Regions from separate parts of the Homo sapiens genome. Here regions 1, 2, 3 and 4 are each linked to region 5. The links are contacts of gene promoters, found by promoter capture Hi-C in human tissues and cell types (Jung and others, 2019). All regions are on one chromosome and are shown on one strand. Each heading gives the region's core, a stretch centred on a gene start or on the middle of the fragment in contact. The rest is flanking DNA. Distances are from core to core; before and after follow the strand shown.

Region 1 (4,930 bases), core at 2,301-4,800, 1.1 Mb before region 5:
TCCCACTGAAATTAGCCTAGGAACTTCATCAAAACAATCACCTCTTTGGGGAGGAAATAGGTACTAAAATTCATCCAACTGTGACGCCTGCTTTCAGCATCTCAGCTACATTCATGCATTCTCAAATTCTCAGCCTGATTTTATTTTTTTCCTGATTTAGGGTCTCACTCTGTCACCCAGGCTGGAGTGCAGTGGCTCGATGATAACTCACTGCAGCTCAAGTGATCCTCCTGCCTCAGCCTCCGGGGTAGCTGGGACTCTAGGCATGTACTACCACGCCCGACTAATTTTGTGCTTAATTTTTTTTTTTTTTTTGTAGAGACAGGGGTCTTACTATGTTGCCCAGGCTGGTCTTGAACTCCTGGCCTGAAGCGATCCTCCCACCTGAGCATTCCAAAGTTCAGCTTTAATAGTGAAGTACCATCTATGTGGGAAGTGGGATTTAATTCTCAAGTTTAAAGATTTTTTTCTCATATTGATTTTAACTCCATTGATCAGGACTTGACTATCTTATATTTAAGGCAACTTTAAAGGTGGGCTGGACTAGGCTGGGCGCGGTGGCTCATGCCTGTAATCCCAGCACTTTGGGAAGCCAAGGCGGGCAGATCACTTGAGATCAGGAGTTCCAGACCAGTCAACATGGTGAAAACCCATCTCTACTAAAAATACAAAAATTAGCCAGGCGTGGTGGCAGGTGCCTGTAATACCAGCTACTTGGGAGGCTGAGGCAGAGAATTGCTTGAACCCGGGAGGCAGAGGTCGCAGTGAGCTGAGATCGTGCCTCTGCACTCCAGCCTGGGCGACAGAGCGAGACGCCATCTCAAAAAAAAAAAAAAAAAAAAAAGGGTGGGCAGACTAAAGCTTCTCTTTCCTTAGGAAATATTTTATAGACACAAATGAGATTATATGAGGAGGTTTAAATTCCATCAGACACAAAACAGCTCAACACTCTCAACCACTAGGAGATAACTCATTTACCTAAGATCTCAAATGTATGTTAATTAAAATATAGTCTTTTCTCCCGATTAAAGCCAGTCTCCTAAGGGTTGCTACCAAGTCATGCCCCTATGGCTTGTGCTTAAAGCACAACCCCACGTGGCAGCTTTTGCTAGTTGCTTTTCAATCTCCACTACCCCTTTCCTCCCAAATAAGAAAACTCTGATTTTTAGCTGGGTCTACTGCTGCCCAATTGAAAGATGGCATTTCCCAGCCTCCCTGGCAGCTGGGGCATGGTTGTGTGGCTAAGTTCTCCCACCACCTTCAAGAAGTGGAAAGGTGTGAGACTTCTGGAAAGTCTCCCTGAACGAGAGAGGCATATCCATCTTCTCTTTTGCAGCTGGTTCCTGGGCCGAGGAGGTGATGGCAGGAATGTGGGCAGCCATCCTGGATCATGAAGAAACGTGAATGGCAGATAGAAAAGCTGATCCTTGAGGACTTTAGGGCTGCCATACCAACCACGATTGCCTCTCCATGGACCTCTTTTATAAAAATATGAGTAATATTCTTGTTTAGGCCACTGTGATGTTGGGATTTTTCAATACATGCAGCTAAACCTAACTGATACCCCACTTCCCCAAGTTCAGCCTTCATCCCATGCACAATTTCAAACTATAAAACACAGGAAGGGAGCCTCTGAGCAGATACAACTGCTCCAGGCCTTGGAGTTGGCCAAGGATAGACCCACAGAGAACAGCCATTCACTCAGTGGACAAGCCCATCAAGTGTCTACCCCAAGATCCTGTGCTGAAGAAATGATGGCTTTGGGAGCAGCAGGTTTTATGGGGGAAGACTGAGAGTGTGGTTTGGGACACGTTAAATTTGAGAGGATCTGTTAGGCGTCCAAATGGTGAAGAACAGGTAAACAGGTCTGGAGTTTCAGGGTTGAGGCTAGAGATATAGGTTTTGAGAAGTTTGGGAGAAAATGGTTGTTTATAAAACCATGTAACTGTAGGAAATCCCCCAGGGAGGGAGTGGATAGAGTAGGTTCCAAGGACTGAGTCCAGGGTCTCCAGTGTTGAGAGGTCGGTGAGCAGGGGAGGCATCCAGCCAAGGAGATCAAGCAGGAGTGGCCAGGAGCGAGGAGGAGAAGTGGACAGTGGGATCTGTTTCAGCCAAGTGAGGATGCTGTGTCACGGAGAGGGCACAGTCGGCTGGGTCACGTGGTAGTGACAGTTCAAGGAAGAGATGAGCGCTGACCCCGATCATCGGATTTTGCAACATCAAGGTCAAGGATGACTTTGATAAAGAGCTTCAGAGGAGTGGTTGGGTGAAAATCTGATGGGAGTAGTTTCCAGAAAGAACAAGTGGGAAGGAATTGGAGATAAGGGGAAACTCCAGAGGGGTTTTGCCCTTCAGAGGGTCGACTGGGTGGTAGGAAGAGGAGAGTAGGGAAAATCAATCAGTTACTCAAAAATAAACATGGACCCTACCCCCAACTAAGAGAAATCTTAGATGCCAGCGCGCCTAGGCTCACATCGCGTCTGTTGGAATAAAGTGGTCATGGAGCCCACGGACCTTTCTGAGCACCTGGCACTGGCCAGTGAGGACAAGCAGGAACAGGTCAGACTTCTCAATTCTGAACCGAGGGGGGCATGACTTCCATCTCCTGTGTCTTACATCTGCACGTTTCACAACAAGCCAGAGACGTGGTGGTGGTGCGGCAGGGAAAAGTGCAGCGCTGTGGGGTCAGGCCGACCCAGATCCGCCGTGATCTGGATGCAACCCCCACAGCCAGGGCACGCCGGCCTCGTTGTGCCTGCTTCTCTGGCTGTCAATGGGAAGTTTAAGTGAGGCCACGTGTGGGTTTTTAGCTCTCTGCTTGACACATAGCAGGTACTCAGATTGAGGTGAGCGTTTTAAGGTACAAATTAGGGCACCACTGGGGGGAGTAGCGAGGGCGGAAGAGTATCTTTTTAGAACGCACCGCTGATAGTGGTGATTTAAAAAAAAAAAAAGAGGCACCGTTCACTTTCATCGGGGAGCTGGGAAGAAGACAGAAGAGGTGTTTGGGAGAAGCAAGATGAGCAGCGAGCGAGAGGGAACCGGCCGGCAGGTCATGAAAATCGGCGGCGCGTCGCCCCGCACCTGTCCCGCCCCCGTACCTGGCGGGCGCTCGGGGCAGCCGAGCCCTCCTGCCGCCGCCACCTGCCACCGCAGCAGTTTCCTGGGCCAGCTGGGGCTAAGGTGTTGGCAGTCGTCGTCCGTCAGCTCCCGGTAGGCAGGACGCCGCGGCTGTTTGGCGTCGTCACCTAGCAACCGGCGGCACGCTCCGCCGCCATCGGGTGGACTACAACTCCCACAATACACAGCGCCGCGGCGCGGCCCGGGACGCCAAGCCCTGGGCGCCACCTCCCCGCCATGCCTTTCGGGACTTGTAGTTTCTTGGATACCCGGGCGCGGCGGGTCGCCCCGCCGGCAGGGAGCGCGCCTCGGGCGGGGTGCGGCGCCCGCGCAGGGATTGGGCCGCCTCCGCCCCGCCCGCCCCGCCCGCAGCGCGCGGTGGGCCCGGGGCTCGCGGCGCCCTAGGCGCATGTGCGGCGCGGGGCGGCCGTGACCAGCGGAGCGCTGGGTGTCAGTGAGCAGCGAGGAGCCGCGCGCCCCCGTGCCCGCGTCTGTCCGTGCGCCCGAGCGCCCACTCCCGGGTCTGAGGTCTGCCCGGCGCGCCGCTTGCAGAGCATACTCAGGGCCGCGCACCTGCCCCGCGCACCTGCCCGCCGCCCGCTCGGCGCTCCGGGCTTCGCTAGCCAGCCTCCCTGCGACAGCGCGGGGGCTCCGGCCGTGCCTCCGCGTCCGCCCCGCGCCTCAGCCGGGCCCGGGCGCAGCGCTGCGGAGGGCGAGGGCCGCCCGGAGTCCGGCCAGGGCCGGCGCGGCGATGATGAACAGGTTCCGAAAGTGGCTCTACAAACCCAAGGTGAGCGGCCCCGCTCGGGCCGGACGCCCCCCGCGTCGCGGCCTCTCCCTTCCCCAGGACCGCCCGTCCGCCCTACAAGACGGACTCCCTTTCCCTGTCCGTGGCCGGCCTCTTCCCCCACCGCCGACATCCTTCCCTCCACTCCAAGACTTGGACAGATCTTCATCGCCCTGTCTCTGAGGCGGATCCGAACCTCCCTCCCGGCTTCCTAAGCCCGGGTCCAGGACTGACCCTCCTGCTCCTCCTCTCGGGCCGGGGCGCACTTTCCCTCCCCCTCTATCCAGGGCCACAACGGGCCCCTCTCCCTCCTCATCCCGGTCCTGGACGGTGCCCTCCTACACTTCGTGGTCCCCAGCCCGCGGGCCCGGAGCAGACCCCCTACTACTTCTCCGTCTCCCCTCCCTGCACCAGGAATGCCCCCTCATTCCCGTCCTGCCCCCACCCCCATTGTCCTGGGCCCGGAATAGATCTCCCTCCGCACTCCAGAACAGACCCTCTCCCCACTTCCCCAGGTTCTGAGAGAACCCACATTTCCCAATCCCTGGGTCCAGGGCAGACCCGTCCTTCCATGTCCAGAGAGGATCCTGATGGCCCTGCCAACGGCCTCCCTTCCCGAACCAGGACTGACCCACACCTCGGCCCAGTTCGCGTCCCCTCCCTTGTCCCTATCCTTGTCCCTTCCCCACCCACGTCCTCTGGAATCCGGGACAGGTCCTCCGCCCGGCCCTTGGGGCGAGCGCGCCCGTGGCCAGCAGCCTCGGCGGGGCGGGAGGTGCGGCTCTCCAGCCGGCGCCCGCGCCTCTCCTAGCGCCGCGGGGTCGGGGTCCGGGCGGCGCGCCCCGTGCCTCAGCGGCTGCGCCAGTCGCACTGCGGGCGCTGCGTCCCCGCCGCCCGCCTGGGGCTCGTGCCCGCTGCAGCCGGAGCAGGGCCGGGCGCGCTCGGCGCGGGATGAAGGCGCGGCGGTGTTCAGGATCCCGGCGCAGGGTCCAGGGCGCATCTGGGCGTCCGAGGGTGGCACCC
Region 2 (5,197 bases), core at 1,309-3,808, 1.1 Mb after region 5:
ATCTTATATATTTTTAAATATTCAGCTTAGTCATTTTATTAATAATTTTATGCACTATATTTTTAGAATATGTTTATCTTGCAAAGCTAACACTCAATATAACTACCTACTTTTTCTGTTTTCTCACTCTACACAAACAATTCTGTTTTTTATTTTAAAGTCAAACTGCTTTAGATATCTCGTGTAAGTTGATTCATATAGTTTGTCTCTTCGTGACTTTTTGTTGTATAATGTCATCAAGATTTATCTTTATTGTACTTGTTTATTTTTTGCTTTTTACAAACTGAGTAATATTTCATTATTTTAATAATTGAAATTATATTTCTCAATTTATTTAGTGAGAGAAATATGCGTTGCTGTTATTTGCTTTCAGGAACAGTGCTGCAATAATTATGAGTGTCTAAATTACTCTTCATGTGACCATGTGTGAGAGTTTATATTTTTGCCAGATTTTATTTAGTTGATCTAGCTGTTCAGCTTTATACCTATCCCAGATTGCTTTAATTCTTTAGATTTGTATGTGTTTTGAAATCAGGAGCTGTGAAGCCTCTGAGATTGCTTCTGTTTTTGAAGATTGTTGGGTACTTCACTGTTTCTTAATTCCATATAATATGGGAATTGTTGTTTCTATTACTACAATAATTTAATTAAATTTGACAGGGATTGCATTTAATCTGTAGATTATATTGAGCAGTCTAGATATTCTCATTATTTCAAACTTTGAACAAGAGCATGCTTAAGTGTGTGTTGTTTAATTTCTATAAATATGTAAATTTTTTAGTTTTCTTTATTTCTACTCTCATTCCAGTTTGGTCATTAAAAGTAATCTGTAAAATTTCAATTTTAAAACTTTAAGACTTTTTTTGTGCCCTGACATGTAGTCTATCAAGGAGAATATTGTATGAGGTATTGAGAAGGGTGTGTATTTAGTTGTTGCTGAGCAGTGTTCTCTACAGTTCTGTTAGGCGTAATAGTTTAATACTGGTTTCAAGTCTCCTGTTTCCTTATGAATATTTTATCTTGTTTCATTATTCCTTACAGAAACTGGGGTATTTAAATATCCTACTATAGTTATATTGCTGTCTTTGTCTTAATTCTGTGAGTATTGGCTTTGTATATTTGGAACTCAATGTGGGGGAGACACACACACATATTAACGTATGTATAGACATGTTTGTCATTAGTTCCCAGTAAATGAACCTTTATTATTATTATTGTTTAATGTCCTTCTTTCTTATGACTTTTTAAAGTATATTTTATGAAATAGGACAGTTTTGACTTAAGATGTACTTTGTATTACATAATTTGGACCTCTTATTTGGTTATTTGCATGAAATCTCTTCTTTCATTTTGCCTTTTTCAGTCTTTTTAAATCATTACATCTCAAGTGACTCCTGTAGAAAAGCAAGTTGGATCTTGTTTTTTAATTTTTGCAGTCAATCCCCTTATTTGGTGCATGTATTTTGAATGGAAACTTTACTTCATAAATATTTGAATAATTTGCTGAAATAGACTTACTCATCTTATTGTTTTACTGGATTATTTTATCTTTGTCCCTTATTTTCTTTTTCTGTCTTCCTTAGTCTTTTTTATTTTTGTATTGATACACCTTTAATTCTTATTTTTTGGTGTATCTATACAGATACTTTTTTTCTGGTATCTTGAGAATTACATAAAATTTCTTTAAGTTAAAATAATATATTTTAAACTGGTAAAAACTTAACTTCCATTGAATTTGAAAATTCCTCCTCATTACATCTGCCCTCAACTTCATTATTGATGTCAGTAATCATATTGTTGTTGTGTATTATTACCAGATTATGATGAACAGTTTATGATCATTTTTATGCTTTCCTCTTTAAAATTTTAGAGAATAATTACAATATTTTCTGTAATATGATAGTGGTACAGAACTTTGTGGATGTGCATATCTTTTTCAGAAAGCTATATATTTTCATATGATTATGTTTGGCTTTCTTACATTATGTTATTTTCACTGGAAGATACTTTCTTGAGCATTTTTTTGGTAAGACGTGTTGTGCTAATATACTTTTTCAGCATTTGGTTATCTTGAAAGGTCTTTATTCTTTCTTCATTTTTAGGACAGTTTTGCTGGTTATATGATTCCCACATAGAAGTTTTTTTTTTTTTTCCTAGCACCTTAACAATATCCCAATTCTTTCTGTTGCGAAATAGTTTTGTTGACAGATTCACTGGTAATCTTTTAAGACCACAGTTATAAATGACACATCACTTTTATTTTGCAGCTCCTAAGATGTCGTTTTTGAGTTTGATTTTTGAAACTTTGCTTATATATGTGCTTTGCTGTAAATCTGTGTGTGTAACCTTGTTGAAGTTTGTTGAGCTTCTTCCGTTTTTATATCCTTTTTTAACTTGAAAATTTCTGTCTTTATTTTGCATTTTTCACCTTCATGATTTGTTTTTTGTTTTTAATGTTTTCATTGATGTTCTCATTTTTCTGATTACATTTAGTTGTACGTGTTTCCATTTAGCTGATTCAGCATTATTCAGGTTACATTTTAAAAATTTGTACATCTTTGTTTTTATGGTTGTTTTCTGAAAAATTTTAAATTGTTTAATTAGACCATGTTCTAATATTTTGTATACATTATAATATTTGCTTGTTATTTGAACATTAACCAAAAGCTATTTATCACAACCTTTACAATGTTGTTTTCTCCTGACATAGTCTGAAGCCAGTTGTCTTTGATACGGATTATAGTAACCTCTCATACATGTTGGAAGGATGTGTCTTGTCTAGAATTTTGTGTTTATTTTTTAGTTAAAAGGGTTTGTTCATGTTTCCTCTTAAGAGTCTTTAATCACTTGGTCTGTTGTCTGTATTTAGCACTTCAGTCTGCTCTTGAAACATGTACATTTGGTCTTAGCAGACCCAACCTGTCCTTCCTAAGTATATCACCATTTCTTTCAGCACTCTTTGTTATTGGAGGCAGAAACCAGTTTTTGTAAAGATCCCCAAAAGCCAGAAGTAAGGATACGTGTCAGTATTTTTCTTTTCTTTTAAGTAAGAAGACAGGAGTTGACAGTTTACTTCTAATGGCACAGTGCTATATTGGGGAGGAGGAAGAACTGTGGTTGGTAAATGTAACAAACTTTGTATCCTGTTCTATGTGGCTCTTGGCATTGTGCTTACCTGAGGCATTGCATGTAACTCATTTATAAATTTCACTAAAAGGCATTTTGATCAGTATATGTTTGTTACATATATATGTCTGTGAAGAAATTATGGCCTGTGGTATTTTGTTATGCCATCTTACTAATGTACTTTGTATAAGTTTATATATTAGATTTTTAAAGTATATTCGTATGAATCTAGTAAGCAGGATAATTTATTTTTATTTCTTTCAGCTGTGTGTTCTCATTTCACCCAAGACTTTTTGCCAGTGCAGGGGATAGAAGATTCGTTCCACAAACTTATATTAAGAAGATATGAGAAATGTGGACATGAGAATTTAGAATTAAGAAAAAGCTGTAAAAGGAAGGTGCAGAAAGGAGGTTATAATGAATTTAATCAATGCTTGTCAACTATCCAGAGCAAAATATTTCAGTGTAATGTACATGTCAAAGTATTTAGTACATTTTCAAATTCAAACCAACGTAGGATAAGACATACTGGAGAGAAACACTTTAAAGAATGTGGCAAGTCATTTCAGAAGTTCTCAGACCTAACTCAACATCAAGGAATTCATGCTGGAGAGAAACCCTACACATGTGAAGAATGTGGCAAAGACTTTAAATGGTATTTAATCTTTAATGAATATGAGATAATTCATACTGGAGAGAAACCCTTCACATGTGAAGAATGTGGCAACATCTTTACCACATCCTCAAACTTTGCTAAACATAAAGTTCATACTGGAGAGAAATCTTACAAATATGAAGAATGTGGCAAAGCCTTTAATAGGTCCTCAACCCTTACTAAGCATAAGAGAATTCATGCTGAAGAGAAACCCTTCACATGTGAAGAATGTGGCAAAATCATTACCTCATCCTCAAATGTTGCCAAACATAAGAAAATTCATACCGGAGAGAAACTCTACAAATGTCAGGAATGTGGCAAAGTCTTTAATAGGTCCACAACCCTTACTAAACATAACAGAATTCATACTGGAGAGAAACCCTACACATGTGAAGAATGTGGCAAAGCCTTTAGTAGGTCCTCAGTTCTGAATGAACATAAGAGAATTCATACTGGAGAGAAGCCCTACAAATGTGAACAATGTGGCAAAGCCTTTAGACAATCCGCAACCCTTAATAAACATAAGAGTATTCATACTGGAGAGAAACCCTACACATGTGAAGAATGTGGAAAAGCCTTTAGTCGGTTCACAACCCTTAATGAACATAAGAGAATTCATACTGGAGAGAGGCCCCACAAATGTGAAGAGTGTGGCAAAGCCTTTGGATGGTCCACAGACCTGAATAAACATAAGATAATTCATACTGGAGAGAAACCTTACAAATGTGAAGAGTGTGGCAAAGCCTTTGGATGGTCTGCATACCTGAGTAAACATAAGAAAATTCATACTGGAGAGAAACCTTATAGATGTGAAGAGTGTGGCAAAGCCTTTTTATGTTCCAGAGCCCTGAATAAACATAAGACAATTCATACTGGAGAGAAACCTTACGAATGTGAAGAGTGTGGCAAAGCCTTTGGATGGTCCACATACCTGAGTAAACATAAGAAAATTCATACTGGAGAGAAACCTTATAGATGTGAAGAGTGTGGCAAAGCATTTAGACGTTCCAGAGTCCTGAATAAATATAAGACAATTCATACTGGAGATAAAACCCCCAAATGTAAAGGATGTGGCAAAGCCTTTAAGTGGTCCTCATACCTTAATCAACATAATAAAATTTATACTGGAGAGAAACTCTAGAAATATGAAGAATGTGGCAAAGCCTTTGGATGATCCACAAACCTGAATGAACATAAGAAAATTTATACTGGAAATAAACTATACAAATGTGAAGAATGTGGCAAAGCTTTTGGATGGTCCACAACCCTGAATGAAAGTAAGAATTCATACTGGAGAAAAACCCTACAAATGTAAAGAATGTGGGAAAGCCTTCAAACAGTCCGCATACCTGAATCAACATAAGAAAATTGATGCTGGAGAGCAACCCTACAAATGTGAAGAATGTGGCAAAGCTT
Region 3 (4,676 bases), core at 548-3,047, 1.0 Mb after region 5:
TTAATACTTTTTTAATCATGCAAGGAACTTTTTTAATACTTTTTTAACCACGCAAGGAACTGATTTTAAAAAATAAGGTCTCAGCCTTGGATCAGGAGATAATTGAAGTAGATCCTGACACTAAGGAAATGCTGAAGCTTTTGGACTTCGGCAGTCTGTTCAACCTTCAGGTCACTCAGCCTACAGTTGGGATGAATTTCAAAATGCCTCGGGGACCTGTTTGAATTTTTTCTGTAGTGCTGTATTATTTTCAATAAATCTGGGACAACAACAATCAAAAATAAAATAAATAAGGACTTTTCACCCAGAACAATGGACAGGATCTGTGGGCAGAACACAGCTGATGGTTTCTCTTCAAACTGTCCATGTGATCCTACTGGAAGACTGGGCTGAGAGTCACTTAGCTAAGCACTGCCTCTCAAGCTTCATTGTACATATACATTATTTGATATTGTAGGCCTCACTGTAAGTAACAAAATTCTGCAGGTTTGAAAAGGGTCCATGAATTAGCTTTTTACAGCAAGTCTCCTGTTAATGCTGACGCTCCTCCCTCTAGACCCATTATAGTACCACTCAGTTAGAGAAAGCAGACACAGCACACAGAGTCCCTTACCCCAACACCGTTATCACAACACAAATACTTTTCATCCCAAGACCACCAATCATCATCTTCAAACATGGCATTCTCTGCAGACCCTATAAGGTTACAGAAGTTGGAGACGGTGGCAATGTCTGAGTAAGTCTGTATCTGAAAAACAACATGTGCATCTGCATTAATGCCATCTTTATGGGGCATGTAATATGTGCTCAGATGTATGTCACAGAGCACTGTGATGGGAAGCTCATATTATGTGTGTTAATTCTCATAACATCCTGGGAGGTAGACACTAGGTGTCCCATACTTCCCAGATTTAAAGGCAGGGCCCAGAATTTCCATTTCCTTTCTGTTTCCCCTGACTTTTTAAAAAAATGTATAGAATAATAGCTAAATATAAATAGATGGGAGAGAGCCAAAGAAAGTGTTAAGTACAATTCAGAGGAATTTTTTTATTTTTGTGTTTGTATTTACTTTGAGACTTGTAAGAAAAAGCCACTGAAACTGCAGGGATAGAGAACAGGTTGCTGGGTGGGATGTCTCTAGAAACATTAGTTTTAATTTTATAGAAAAGATTTAAGGCCCCAAAGTATATAGCTTTTCCCTATTTATTGGCTTTTGGGTTTCAGAAAATTGTGGGCACCAGCTCTGGAGAGGAGACTGGAGTAGCCACCCTAAACTCTGATCTCCTCTATTAATCAGTTCTGTGAGAGATTTCAGTGTTGGCTCAGACCTGGACAAGGATCAGAAGAGGGTAGATCTGGGCAGGGATGGGACAGAAAGTGGGCCCTAGGCTTCTGCTCTCTATGTCACTAAGTACTTTCGGTTTTGTCTTTTCTAAGCCTGCCCAAGAGAAATTTGATTCCCAGAATTTGTGAAATTTTAATCTATTTTAGCCACTTCTCTGTCTTTTGTATAACATACAGTAACAAGGAATTTAACCAAAACCCTTATGTTTCTCTAGAACAATTATATTAGAAGCTAAATATTTATTCTTAGCAAGGTAAACACAATACAAATAATAACAACTTCTCTTCTGTCAATGAATAGCCATTCACATAATGGCATCAAAACTCACAAAACAGGCTGGGCACGGTGGCTCACGCCTGTAATCTCAGCACTTTGGGAGGCTGAGGCGGGTGGATCACAAGGTCAGGAGTTCAAGACCAGCCTGGCCAATATGGTGAAACCCCATCTCTACTACAAAATATAAAAAATCCGCCGGGCATGGTGGCGTGCGCCTGTAATCCCAGCTACTCGGAGGCAGGAGAATTGCTTGAACCTGGGAGGCGGAGGTTGCAGTGAGCCGAGATCGCACCACTGCACCCCAGCCTGGCGACAGAGCGAGATTCTGTCTCAAAAAAAAAAAAAAGAAAAATGTTTTTTTGACCTAAAAGGAAAAAGGTGGGGTAAACATAATATAAGAAGAGAGTTTATTTGGGCCAAAGCTTGAAGATTGCAACCCTGGACTATAAAGCTGCCCTGAATATACACTCCAATTAGAAGCAGTTACAAGTATATTTTTAAAGGCAAAAAGAAAGGCAGACGGAACTGATAGAAAGCTGTCAGAAATTCTTATTGGTTTATAGAAGTAACATTGGTTAGTGATTGGCTATGTACGTTGTTAAGCTATAAGGTGTGGGTTATAGTGTCCAGTATGGCATTATTAGGTTAATTTATATCCACTTGTGGCAATAGCAAACAACTTCAAAAGACAAACAGTTCAAAGAGGGGAACGGTAGGACTGTGGTCTCATTTTAACACATCACTTGGTCTCGTAATTAAAAGAACTTGTATTTCTCAAACAAAAGTTCTGTTCTTCTCTCAAATCCCAGGACATAAACTCAGAATTTGGAACTGCACATTTAAGACTTGGAGGGCTGGTAAGCACATTTGTGGGCATTTGGGCAAGGGGAGAAGGGAGAGAATGGAAGTTCTCAGGTTTAATCAATGCACATGTGTGAACCTCGCTGGATTTATGGGCCCCATGATTTCTGAATCAGTGTCAGATCTGAAGATCATTGGCACACTGAAAGAGGTGGAAAAACTGATCGCTATCCTAAAAAGTCATTTTTGTAGAAATCTAGTCAAACTGCTATAGAAGGGATTGTAGATCCCAAATAGAGAGATCATTTTGTTTGCAGCTTTGGGGAGCACTTTGCTGCACTTCGTGCACTTTGCTGCACAACTGTGGGTTGTGACTGGAATCCTGAGAAAGAAGGTTCTTCTCTAAAACGAAGCCTGGTGGGCACTTTGTGTATAACATCTAGTAATTCTTGACAGCGTGTGGAAAATATAACAGCAAAATCATCTACAATCCTAAAATACTGTCCAAAATAATAGAACAGCAAGAAAATGTGTTGTTAGAGAATTAAACAAAATGTGGTGTGCATTACAGGCAGTCTACTAAGAGACTGCCAAAACAAAGAAAGTCACCATAATTAGCTCTCAAGTAGAAGACTTGACAGTACCATGTATCATACATAGTTTATTACACTTTCACCTAGTAATTTGGGAGGTCATCCGGGTTTCCTAATTGGTAATATTCAAAGGGAAAATAAACTTCCCACAGCTTCAGGACAGGAGGTAGATTTGATATGTGAAGGCAGGTACCTGCTGAAGGCAGCCTCCTACTCTGCTACAGAAATTGCGGAATAGGTTATATATTCTTGCTATGCACATTTCAAAGCAATAGTTTCCATGTCCTAAAGACAATTTTGAGTCAAAAAAGACAAATCACCTAGTTAACAGATTAAAATGAGTTATATATATTTCAAAGAAGCAGAGAAAATATTTAAATATAAAAGTTTTCAAACTAAATGCTTTAAGGGAGAAGAGTAAAAATTCTTTCCTCATTCTAAAGAGAAAGCATTAAGCCTCTTCTGATTTGTATTTGGTCCTACAACAGGCAGGTCTAAAGGCATGGTCTTGAACTCACTAACGTTGAATTCTTGTAGCACATGAGGGATGCACTTGAGCAAACTGTGTGCACAGGAAAGAGGATTTGTGGGGAAGAAAAGAGCAGAAGAAAGGTGCTATCAAGAGCCTTGAGTGGGGGCAAGGCAGGATTGACGAAAGGACTGGTTTGTGCTACAAGTTCAGGCCCAGGCAGGGCTAAGCTCTAACTGATTCCTGAGCCCATAAAGGCAGAGGAGATTAGGATCAGGTGGTCCAAAAGCCTGGGTGGGTGAAGAAAACAGATTCCTGCTACAGATCTGGGGTTAAAATGAACCAGGAGTCTTCTGGGCACTGTGTGTGTTCTTGGGAGAAAAACCTAGGAGCAAAGCTGCCATGGGCACAATTCCTGAGGGTAGAACCCTGTCCTGGGACAAGTGTGGCCGTGCGAATGCCCAATGGGCGGGCTCAGGAGTGGGTTAGCATTGGGTGGGGGCTGGCAGCAGGGTGCAGGGAAGGGATGTTTCTCAGAACTCCTTTCCTCCAAGTTCTCAGCGCCCTCTCTCCCCGGGAGGAGACCTGGAGGAACAGAACAGTGCGCAGCAGGACAGTGCATGTGCAGAACCCGGCTGGTCTCCCGCGGACACCTGCGACTCCCTCCAGCCCAGGCTCAGCCATGTCTTTCTTCTGACAGGAAACGTGAGGAGTTTGCTCAACACCAGTCAATGCTCCGACCCCAACGGGCTGTCCAACAACTCACTAACGACACCACCCGGAGTCAGCACAGACCCCACAAGCTCAGCGCTCTTCCCGCAGCTGCCCCCCTGCAGACGCCAGTCCCTGCCTCTGGACACCCGTCTTCATTTCTGAACACCTGTCTACAAACCAGGGGCCCACACCCTCCTCAAGTTCAATAATATGACAGAACTACTCACAGAACTCAGCGAAGCGCTGTGCGCGCCCACACTAGCGTATTCTAAAAGATGCCACTCAGGAACAGCCACGCGGAGGAGGCGCACAGGGCAAGGAGACTGGTGGGCAAGTTGGAGCGGGCGGGTGATTTGCTTCGCTTCCTCACACACCTCACAAAAGCTTTTCCTTCAAGACCCGCTGGCAGCCCCCAAACCACGAGCCACGGCCGGCGCTGTCCCATTAATGAGTCCCCATTTGCTCACATGAACTCTGT
Region 4 (4,686 bases), core at 1,540-4,039, 1.1 Mb after region 5:
GTTGCAATCTTGGCTCACTGAAACCTCCGCCTCCTGGGTTCAAGTGATTCTCCTGCCTCAGCCTCCCAAGTAGCTGGGATTACAGGCATGCGTCACTACGCCTGGCTAATTTTGTGTTTTTAGTAGAGACAGGGTTTCTCCACATTGGTCAGGCTGGTCTTGAACTCCTGGCCTTATGATCTGCCCGCCTTGAGTTCCCAAAGTGCTGGGATTACAGGCATGAGACACTGCCCCTGGCCAAGGTACAGGGTTTAAAGTTACCATACAAATATAAAGATTAAAAACAAACCACTAAAATGGGGTTGAAAACAAGAATAAAAATTTCTGACCTTTAAAATATTGAATATCATATAGATGTATCATAAAAACAATCCTTTACAGTTTTCAACTGTGACTATGTACTTATGAAGAGCTGGCATTTTGAATCTTTGGCATTCAAGGTACAGCAATAAAAGAAAATAATCTCAATAATTAATAAAATGCTCTGATGAGAATGAGGCATTTCAATACATTTACTTATTCCACAATTTGAAAATTTAAGCATTTTATTTCAGACATTTTGAATTTGAAATAAAAAATATTTGACACAGAACAATCAAAGTAAAACATACAAGGGGAGTGACATAGCAAGATGGCAGAATAGGAGGTTCTCTACCTAAATCTTATATGGTTATAAAAAAATGCAGCAGTTATGCCCTGGCAAATGAACCTTTATAGGAACTTTGGAATCCATGTCAAAAGGTGTAAACCCAAGACAGGAGGGCTGTATTGAGAGGGCATGCCCTTGCTTGAGTGGCATGCTTGCCCATCATAGTCCCAGCTACAAAATAAAATATGATTAATTCTCATTGTAAGTATAGCTGTAGGCCATTTGGTTTTGTTTATGCCACTAGCACCATCTGCCAAGACACCAAGGAGGATTCATAATGTCCTGTGTCTCAGGTGAAAGGACTTTAGATGTTGCTCCTCTCTGTAGTCTCCTAATTAGCCCCTTGCACACATCTATCATGATGTGGAAGAAATCCTGCACATGCAGGAACCGACAGAAACATCCATCTGTGCCCCTGGATGTAGGCTTGCCGATATTTATTTAATGGTGGATCTTGATGTGGCACTATCATCTGGCTCCCAGTCCATGAAACCAAAGTCCAGAAGCAGTTTTTCCTAACCTGGGACCTGCCAAAAAACACACCTATATGTGCCCCTGTAGGCATGCTGGCTGACTTTATTCCCACTGTGAATCTTGAAGCAGTCCTAAAACCCAGCTCCAGTCCCAAAACCTACCTCCAGTCCCAAAACCTACCTCCAGTCCCTGTCAACTAAAGTCTGGGAGCAGTCCTGCCCACCCAGGAATCTGGAGGGAGAAATGCCGTGAACCCAGAAACAAACCTGAAGACTTTGGTCTCAGCTGTGTATCCTGAAGCAGCCCTATGAATCAGTTCCACACCCTCTCAGCTGTGACCAAGGGTCAGTACTTCTCATCTAGGAATCTGTCCAATGACTGGGTTAGAAGATTTCTAAAAACCCAGCAAGAGCCACACAGCAGAAGCCATACCTGCTCACATGGATTATATCAGCTCTGTCATCTGCATATACAACTGGAGACTTTTTTTTCTCAGCACCAGTCTTACTGATCAAGATCCTGAAGAAAGTTCAGTCTTCCTAGAAAATAGACAGAATCCACAACAGTCTGATGCCCTAATAACAGGTCTGCCAAGCATGAACTTCACTGTGATCCAGATCCAATGCACCTTACTGCAAACTCACTGGAAATCTCATCAGCACAGAGATCCAATAGGAGAAAATATTTACCACCCCAAACTAATCTATAATGACTGCAAGAGATATTTACTCCTTCAGATGCAAGGACATAAAAACAAGGCATCACAGACCATGAAAGATCAGGCAAATGTAACACCACCAAAAGAAACTAAAAATTCTCTAGTAACCACTTACAGTAAAACACAGATCTAAAAAATGGCTAAGAATTCAAAATAATTATCTTAAAGAATCTCAATGAGATGCAAAAAAACCACACATTACTAAATTTTTTTTGCAACAACGTATGAACAGAATCACAATTATAATAAAGAGAAACCATTAAAACAGAACCAGTTAGATATGCTGGAGCTGAAGTACACAATAGGAGATCTAAAATATTTAAGAGAAAGCTTTAACAGGAGACTCCGTTATACAGGAAAAAAAAAATCAGCAAATGTAAAAGTTATTTGAAAGTTCCTAGTTAGAATTTAAAAAAAGAATGCGAGTGAATAAAGCATTTGTCCCCCATATTTCATAATCAATGGTAAGGATGTACAATTTTAGGAGGTTCATGAGAAAGAAAAAAATTTTTAAATTGTTTAAAGATATAATGTCTTAAATTCTTCCCAATCTTGGAAGGAATATAGATATTAAATTTAAAAGCTCAAAATGTCTATAGCAAGAAGAATCTAACAGAAATTGTCCAGAACACATTATAATTAAACTGCCAAAATTCAAAGACAAACAAAAAAGAAAAAAAAAAGAAAGAATGAGTAATACCCAGTATGAGTATAATAATTTAGTTGCACATTTTAAAATAACTAAAAGAGCATAATTGGATTGTTTATAACCCAAATTATAAATGCTTGAGGGGATGGATATACCCCATTTTTGATTATGTGATTGTTACACATTACATGCCTGGATCAAGACATCTCATGTGCCACACAAATATATACATGTCCTACATACTCACAAAAATTAAAATTAAAAAAAGAAAACCCTTTACCTGGGGTTTGCCTGCAAAACCTAAAATAAAGAGTAAAAAGTAAAAAAAAAAAAAAAAAAGCAAGAGAAAAGAGATTCTTCACATTCAAGGGAACTCCTATAAGGTTATCAGCAGATTGCCCAGCAAAAACCATGCAAGCCACACAGGAGTGAAACCATATATTTAAAATGCAAATGAAGGAAGAAAAAGAAAAAACCTTGACAACTAAGAAGACGATACCTGACAGAGCTGTTCTTTAGAAATGAAGTATCAAAATCTTCTCAGATTAAAAAAAAGTTGAAAGTTTTAATCACTAGACCTGACTTACAACAAATGCTAATGAGAATTTAAGTTGTAATGGAATCCAAACTTACAACAAAATTATAAATCTTACTGAAAATCATATATACATAGTCGAATTTAGAAGGCTATAAAACTAATTATGGTGAATGAATTAATCACATTTAACTCTGGTATAAAAGCTACAAGAAAAAATTATTAAGACTACATATAGCTTCAATAATTTGTTAAAGGGTATACGATATAAAAAGATGTAGAGTGTGACATAAATACTATGTTGAAGGGAGTAAAATTGTTTAATTTTTCTATACATAGAAGCTAACTTTTGCTTGAGGCCAGGAGTTCAAAACTAGTCTGGTCAATATAGCAGGACCCTGTCTCTTAAATAAGTACATAAATAAAATTAAATAAAGATCTCAGAAAGCTATTTAGTCTTTTAAAAAAAGAAGCAGCTGGGCCTGATGGCTCATGCCTGTAATACTAGCACTTTGGGAGTCCAAGGCAGGTGGACTGCTTGAGCCCGGGAGTTCAACACCAGCCTGAGCAACTTGGCAAAACCCTGTCTCTACAAAAAATACTAAAAAAATTAGCCAGACATGGTGGCATGTGCTTGTAGTCCCAGCTACTTGGGAGGCTGAGGATTGCTTGAGCCTGGGGAGGTCAAGTCTGCACTGAGCTATGAATGTACCACTGCACTACACTGGGTAACAAAGCAAGACCCTATCTATACAAACCAAAAGCTAAATTCTTATCTGAAATTAGATTTTATAACTATGAGATGTTTTACATAAGCTTCCTGGAAATTACAAAAAAAACTGTAGTGGTTACACACAAAAGAAAAAGAATGCATATAACAACAAAAACAACAAAAATTCAAGAAAATACAGGGGAAGACAGCATGAAACAATGAAAAAACAAACTACTAAATGGTCAGAAAACAGTAAGAAAATGGCAGTAAGTTCTTATCAATCAGTAATTCATTTAAATATATAAAGATTTAGTTATCCAATAAAAACACATTGCTATAGTTTGAGCGTCCCCTCCAAAATTCATGTTAAAATTTAACTGACATTGTGAGAAAATTAAGAAATGAGGCCCTTAAGAGTTATTAGGTCATGAGCACTCTACTGTCATGAAAGGATTAGTATCAGTATTACCACAGTGTATTAGTCATCATGAGAGTGGGTCTATTATAAAAGTGAGCACTGGTGTACACCTTCTGTCATCCTCAACCCTTTGGTCATGTTGTGATGTGGAAATGTGATTCTCATCAGATGGGAATGACATGCTCTTGGACTTCTTGGCATCCAGGAGTCTGAGCTAAGTAAATTCTATTCTTTATGAATTACGAACTCTGGGATATTCTGTTATTGAAGCAAAAAAAAAAAAAAAAAAAAGGAAACATTCACAAAATGTCTGAATAGATTTAAAAAGTCAACAATATGCTGTGCACAAGAGACTTATTTTAGGTTTAAGGACGTACATAGGTTAATGGTACAAGGATGAAAAAGAATATTCTATGCCAATAATAACTAAAAGAGTGTAGGAGTGGCTATAATTACATCACACTAAATAGACTTCTAGAAAAAAATCTATCAGAAAAAAAGAATTTTATTGTATTGTGATGAGCCTAATTT
Region 5 (4,706 bases), core at 52-2,551:
CCAGCAGCAAAGAAAAAGATGCACGTTTCTCTCTGAATCACATTTGTGCACTCAAGAACTCCTACAGGATGTGCTCCAGACCACACAAATGGGAATGAAGAGAAGCACCAACCACAGAGCAGTGGGGTCCCCAACGCCACACGCCCCGACCCCAGAACATGACCACCCGTCAGAGCCGGGTACTGCAGGGCCCCGAGAAAATGTCCTGGGTGTGTCCCTCGGGTGGTTCTCTCCCAGGTGGGGGCAGGAGGGCAGGGCCCTGTGTGTGTCCTGGGCTCAGTGGGCCAGTCAGTTACTGTTACTGAACCCTAAGACATACTTGCAAATTTTCTTCAGTTCCTTCATTTTCTCAGGATTTAGTCGGGGTTCTCCTGAAGTTGTGAGCTCTTCTACCAACTTCGAAAGTTTCTGATCCATATCTAGAAATAAGTAAGGCAGAGATGCTATATCACCATCTGTATTTTATAGCTCTCGGTGTTATTAACGTGTTTACTGGGTTCCACTATAAACCGAAAGCTCCGGGAGGACCCTGAGGCTGGGGTCCATCTGTGGGTGCCTCTCTGGGAAATATGTGTGTCCAGCAAGGCCTTTACGGCGGTGATTGCAGTTTTAAAAGTGAACCTTAAACTCGGGACCTCTACAATCCCGTGTGTGGGACGCTGCATTGAGGGTCGTGCGTTAAAGGAACCAGTGGCGCTGTCCGAATCAGCTTTTCCCCAACGTGACTGTTGCTGTTTCCCTTATTCACTCAGATTCCGCAGGGCAGCCTCCAGCAAGGCTGCAGAGGCCAAGAGGAGCCAAGAAATTCTGAGACCAATGAAAAGTCGCGTCCGGAGAGCAGGGGCGGCCCTAACGGAGGCAGCCTGCCCGGATACCCAGGGCCGAGCACCGCGGCGTGCCTGGTGGGATGAGGCGAGGGCCTGCCGCACCGCCAGGGAAAGGCCGAAGGACCCGGAAGGAAGCGCCAGGCGAGGCCGGGGCGGAGGCTGGGAAGCTGCGCCCTACTCGGGGAAAGAAGGGGCCCGGCAGGGCCACGCGAGGCTTGGACCGCGGGGTCGCTCTCGCACAGCGGCTGCACCGGGCGGGCGCGCCGGCTTCGACGGTGCTCGGGGGGCTGCGGCCTGTCACTCGGCCCAGGGCCCGCCCTCCGGCCCCGCCGCCGGCGCTCTCGGGCACACGGGACACGCCCTGGCCGCAGGTCTCTGCCCGGCGCCCGCAGAGCCCCGGGGACCGAACCGGCGCGACCCCCGCCCGGCAGCGTAACCACAGCCCCACCTACCGCTGACGCGGCCGCTCGCCTCGCCCCGCCCCTTCCGGCGGGGGGACCGCCCCTCTTGTCAGGTGCCCAAGACCTCTACCGCCATTGGCTGGCCCTGGGCCGGACGCATCAGGACCTGGGGTCACCACAGCGACGACTGCACCTACCGCTCGACGCGGCCTTTCTCGCCGTTGCCCCACCCTTTCCGGTCAAGGCCCCGCCCCCTAGCACGTGCCCTGAGCTCGACAGCCAATGGCTCACCCCAGCCCAGGAGGCGCAGGCGCAAAGACGCGGCCGAGGTCTGCGCGGTGACGTAGGCGCGCTCCCGGCGAGGGCGAGGCAGGCTGCCGGGGGTGGGGAGGGGGACGCACGAGAAAAAAGAGGCGGGAGGGCGCAGAAAGTCCTTAAAGGGGCCGCATGTACGGGCGCCGGGGGCGGGGCCGGCCGGGAAACTGAGGCCGAAAGGAAGTTCCGGTCTGGGCCTCAACGCCACGCCCGCCCGCGGGCTCGCAGCCAGGTCCCTTCACCTGCAGAGGGCCGGTGAGGACCGCCCAGACGGGCGGGCGCGGGCCCCCGCCCCCGAGCTCGCCCCGCGCAGGGCGCCCTGAACCCCGCGGCGCCTCCCCGCTCCGGCCTCGGGAAGGGAATCCCTGGGCGGGCTTGGGGGTCTTCGGGGCCCACCTCGGCGCCAGACGCACAGCAGGTACCCCTGGGCCCGGGCTGGCCCTGGGCGGAATGAGAAGCAGAGGCGCCGTCCGTCCTGCCGCCGAAGTCCGCAGCCTCGAACGCAGGGGAGTGCGAGGTCGGCTGCGGACGGACGGACCTGGAGACCGCGCTTGGGAAACCGTGGCTTCGGAGGAGCGTGGTGTGGACCCCACTCGCGGGGCGCCCGGCACAGGCCACGCAGAGCAGACGCCCGACTGGGCTCCCGGGGCTGGGTGCAGGGCGGGGGCCGCCGGCGGCGGGCCGGGGTTTCTTTTTCGGGGGGATGGGCGTGCCCTTGCATTACGGTGGTGGTAGCTCACAACTCTGTTAATCGTGTTTTTACAGGGTGGGTTTCAGGATGTGTGAGTTATATCTCAGTAAAGCAATTATTTTAAAAAGGAAAAGAAGAGGGACTCCCTGCGCCGCCCCTCTCTGCAGCACCAGCTTCTGTCCCTGGGCGTCAGTGGCTCCCAGCTCCTAGCTTGCAGCCAGCCCCGAGCCGCTCCTCCGCCTCACCCCTTCCTCACCCTGCCTCTTGCTTCACTGAGCAAGCTGCAGCCAGACCCTCCCTCAGCGCCCCTTGCCCTGTGCATCCAATCCCCGGCCTGTGGCTTCCTCCAAGGCACCCATCCAGCAGTTTCCCTCTGTCTTCTACAGCGTGGTTTTTTTTGTTGTTACTAGTTCTCATTAGTATAAAAGGGTGCCGTTTCTCCCATACTAACAAAACCCTCTCTTTATCCAACTTTTCTTACCAATTGCTAAGTCCAGTCTCCTTTACACTGCCCCGGGGTGTCCTCTCAGCCCTCAGGCTCAACAGCACAGCCAAGCTGCCCGTCCACTGCCCTCTGTATCCGCTGATGGCCCTGCAGCCTTTTTTTTTTTTTTTTTTTTTTTTTTTTTTGAGACAAAGTCTCGCTTTGTCACCCAGGCTGGAGTGCAGTGGCACGATCGCGGTTCACTGCAGCCTCCGCCTCCCGGGTTCAAACGATTCTCCTGCCTCAGCCTCCCGAGTAGCTGGGATGACAGTCACCCGCCACCACGCCCAGCTCATTTTTGAATTTTTAGTAGAGACGGGGTTTCACCATGTTGGTCAGGCTGGTCTCGAACTCCTGACTTCAGGTGATCCGCCCGCCTCGGCCTCCCAAAGTGCTGGGATTACAGGCGTGAGCCACCGTGCCTGGGCCACCGTGCCTGGGCCTGCCCTGCATCCTTCTGTTCGCTTGGACCAATTATCTGACTCACTTGGGCTTCTCTCTTCCTCTCACTCCATGCCCATTTGGTTTGCAAATCCTGACAGCCCTACCTTCAGAACACATCCAGATCTGAGCACGTCCCACTGCCTCATTGCCACTGCCAATTCCTGGCCACCCCTGCAGCAGGTCACTGCCGTCACCTTGTCTTTCCCTTGCACCCTGGTACCCCTAGACCATCATGCAGCAACCAGAGGGACCTTTGAAAGTCTAAGGTCGGATCACAGGATTCCTCTACACAAAATCCTCCGACGGCTCCCATCCCAGGGCAAGGCAAAACCTGTCGTGGCCTGTGTTTGCTGCCCCCTGCATCCCACCGGTTGACTTCTCCAGCCTGCTCTTGCTGCCACACGGCCTCTGGGGAGCGGATCCCTCTGCCGGGAAGCTTCTGCCAGTATCCACAGAGTTCCTTGCCTCCTTCCAGCCACTGCTCATGTCTCACCCTGAGCAAATACTTCTGCACCCGCTCACCTCCCTGGCTCAACACCCCCCATCCGTTTTCTAAACCTGCCGTGCTTGTTCCCAGGGCACTTCTGGCCCTTGTGTCACACAGACTTACTGTCTTACTAGGTGATTCGCTTTTTTCTCTTCACTCCTAAAACATACAGTCCCTGAAAATAGGGATCTTTGTTTCATGAAGCCAGACAAAAAGCAGGTGCTCAATATTTGTTGAATGCTGGATAAGATTAGAAAGCCAAGATAAATCATGATGAGAGTTAGACGATATTCTTGTTTGTTTTTGTTTGAGACAGAGTCTTGCTCTGTCGCCCAGGCTGGAGTGCAGTGGTGTGATCTCGGCTCACTGCAACCTCTGCCTCCCAGGTTCAAATGATTCTCGTGTCTTGGCCTCCCAAATAGCTGGGATTACAGGCGCCCACCACCACGCCCAGCTAATTTTTGTATTTTTAGTAGAAACAGGGTTTCACCATATTGGCCAGGCTGGTCTCGAACTCCTGGCCTCAAGTGATCTGCCCACCTCAGCCTCCGAAAGTGTTGGGATTACAGGCATGAGCCACTGCACCAAGCCAAGAATTAGAAGATACTTCTAAAAGATATTTTAAAAGAACCAATGGAAACTTAGAGATGATAAAACCCAAGCAGGATAAACAAAGAAAACCACCCAAGGCACATCTTAAATTGCAGAAAACTAGTGACAAATCTTAGAAGCAGTCAGATTAAACAAGGCGTATGACATACAGGCACAAAGAAGCCAAGGATTTCTTGTCCCCTCCTCCCCCTCCACCCAAAAAAAAAAGCCAGAAGAAAATGGAACATCTTTAAGGTGGTAAAAGAAAAAATACTGTCAATCTAGAACTGTATATGCAGCAATATAGCCTTTAAAAACTGAGGTGATGTAAAAGCATTTTCAGACAAAAGCTGCATGAATTATGACCAGCAGATTTGCAGTCCAGGAACTGTTATAGGATGCTCTTCAGATGAAAGGAAAATGATACCAGAGGCAAACTTTATAAAAGGAATGAAAAGTTCTATAA

Evidence for each region. The method cuts DNA at HindIII sites, captures the fragments that hold promoters and counts their contacts. A contact is called where the count stands out against the background at its distance.
Region 1: a contact is called between the fragment with the promoter of ZFYVE28 here and the fragment with the promoter of UVSSA in region 5, in 1 of the 25 tissues and cell types used here (mesenchymal stem cells).
Region 2: a contact is called between a fragment that was not itself captured here and the fragment with the promoter of UVSSA in region 5, in 1 of the 25 tissues and cell types used here (lymphoblastoid cells).
Region 3: a fragment that was not itself captured here is called in contact with the fragment with the promoter of UVSSA in region 5 in 1 of the 25 tissues and cell types used here (lymphoblastoid cells).
Region 4: a fragment that was not itself captured here is called in contact with the fragment with the promoter of UVSSA in region 5 in 1 of the 25 tissues and cell types used here (lymphoblastoid cells).

Annotation. Positions count from the first base shown.
Region 1 is chr4:2,417,265-2,422,194 of GRCh38, reverse strand. It overlaps ZFYVE28 (zinc finger FYVE-type containing 28), which reads left to right and starts at 3,550. Exons shown (of 13, transcript NM_020972.3): 1 at 3,550-3,910. The coding sequence starts at 3,872. CFAP99 (cilia and flagella associated protein 99) reads right to left here and starts at 3,240. Exons shown (of 16, transcript NM_001193282.4): 1 at 3,102-3,240. RefSeq lists silencers at 3,026-3,075, 3,316-3,545, 3,666-3,825 and an enhancer at 4,831-4,930. The HindIII fragment of the contact is 18,624 bases long and covers 1-4,930 here.
Region 2 is chr4:270,824-276,020 of GRCh38, reverse strand. It overlaps ZNF732 (zinc finger protein 732), which reads left to right. Exons shown (of 4, transcript NM_001137608.3): 4 at 3,391-5,197. The coding sequence ends at 4,922. Among named protein-coding and RNA genes, the nearest start is that of ZNF732, 32 kb to the left of the region's middle. The HindIII fragment of the contact is 6,139 bases long and covers 1-5,197 here.
Region 3 is chr4:338,364-343,039 of GRCh38, reverse strand. The region is part of intron 1 of ZNF141 (zinc finger protein 141); the gene reads right to left. Among named protein-coding and RNA genes, the nearest start is that of ZNF141, 2.9 kb to the right of the region's middle. RefSeq lists an enhancer at 4,521-4,676. The HindIII fragment of the contact is 3,033 bases long and covers 281-3,313 here.
Region 4 is chr4:235,776-240,461 of GRCh38, reverse strand. It overlaps the pseudogene ZNF876P. Among named protein-coding and RNA genes, the nearest start is that of ZNF732, 67 kb to the left of the region's middle. The HindIII fragment of the contact is 5,262 bases long and covers 159-4,686 here.
Region 5 is chr4:1,343,803-1,348,508 of GRCh38, reverse strand. It overlaps UVSSA (UV stimulated scaffold protein A), which reads right to left and starts at 1,301. Exons shown (of 14, transcript NM_020894.4): 1 at 749-1,301; 2 at 320-419. The coding sequence starts at 417. RefSeq lists enhancers at 613-692, 2,538-3,060, 3,061-3,584 and silencers at 923-1,362, 1,603-1,932, 2,153-2,242. The HindIII fragment of the contact is 13,201 bases long and covers 1-4,706 here.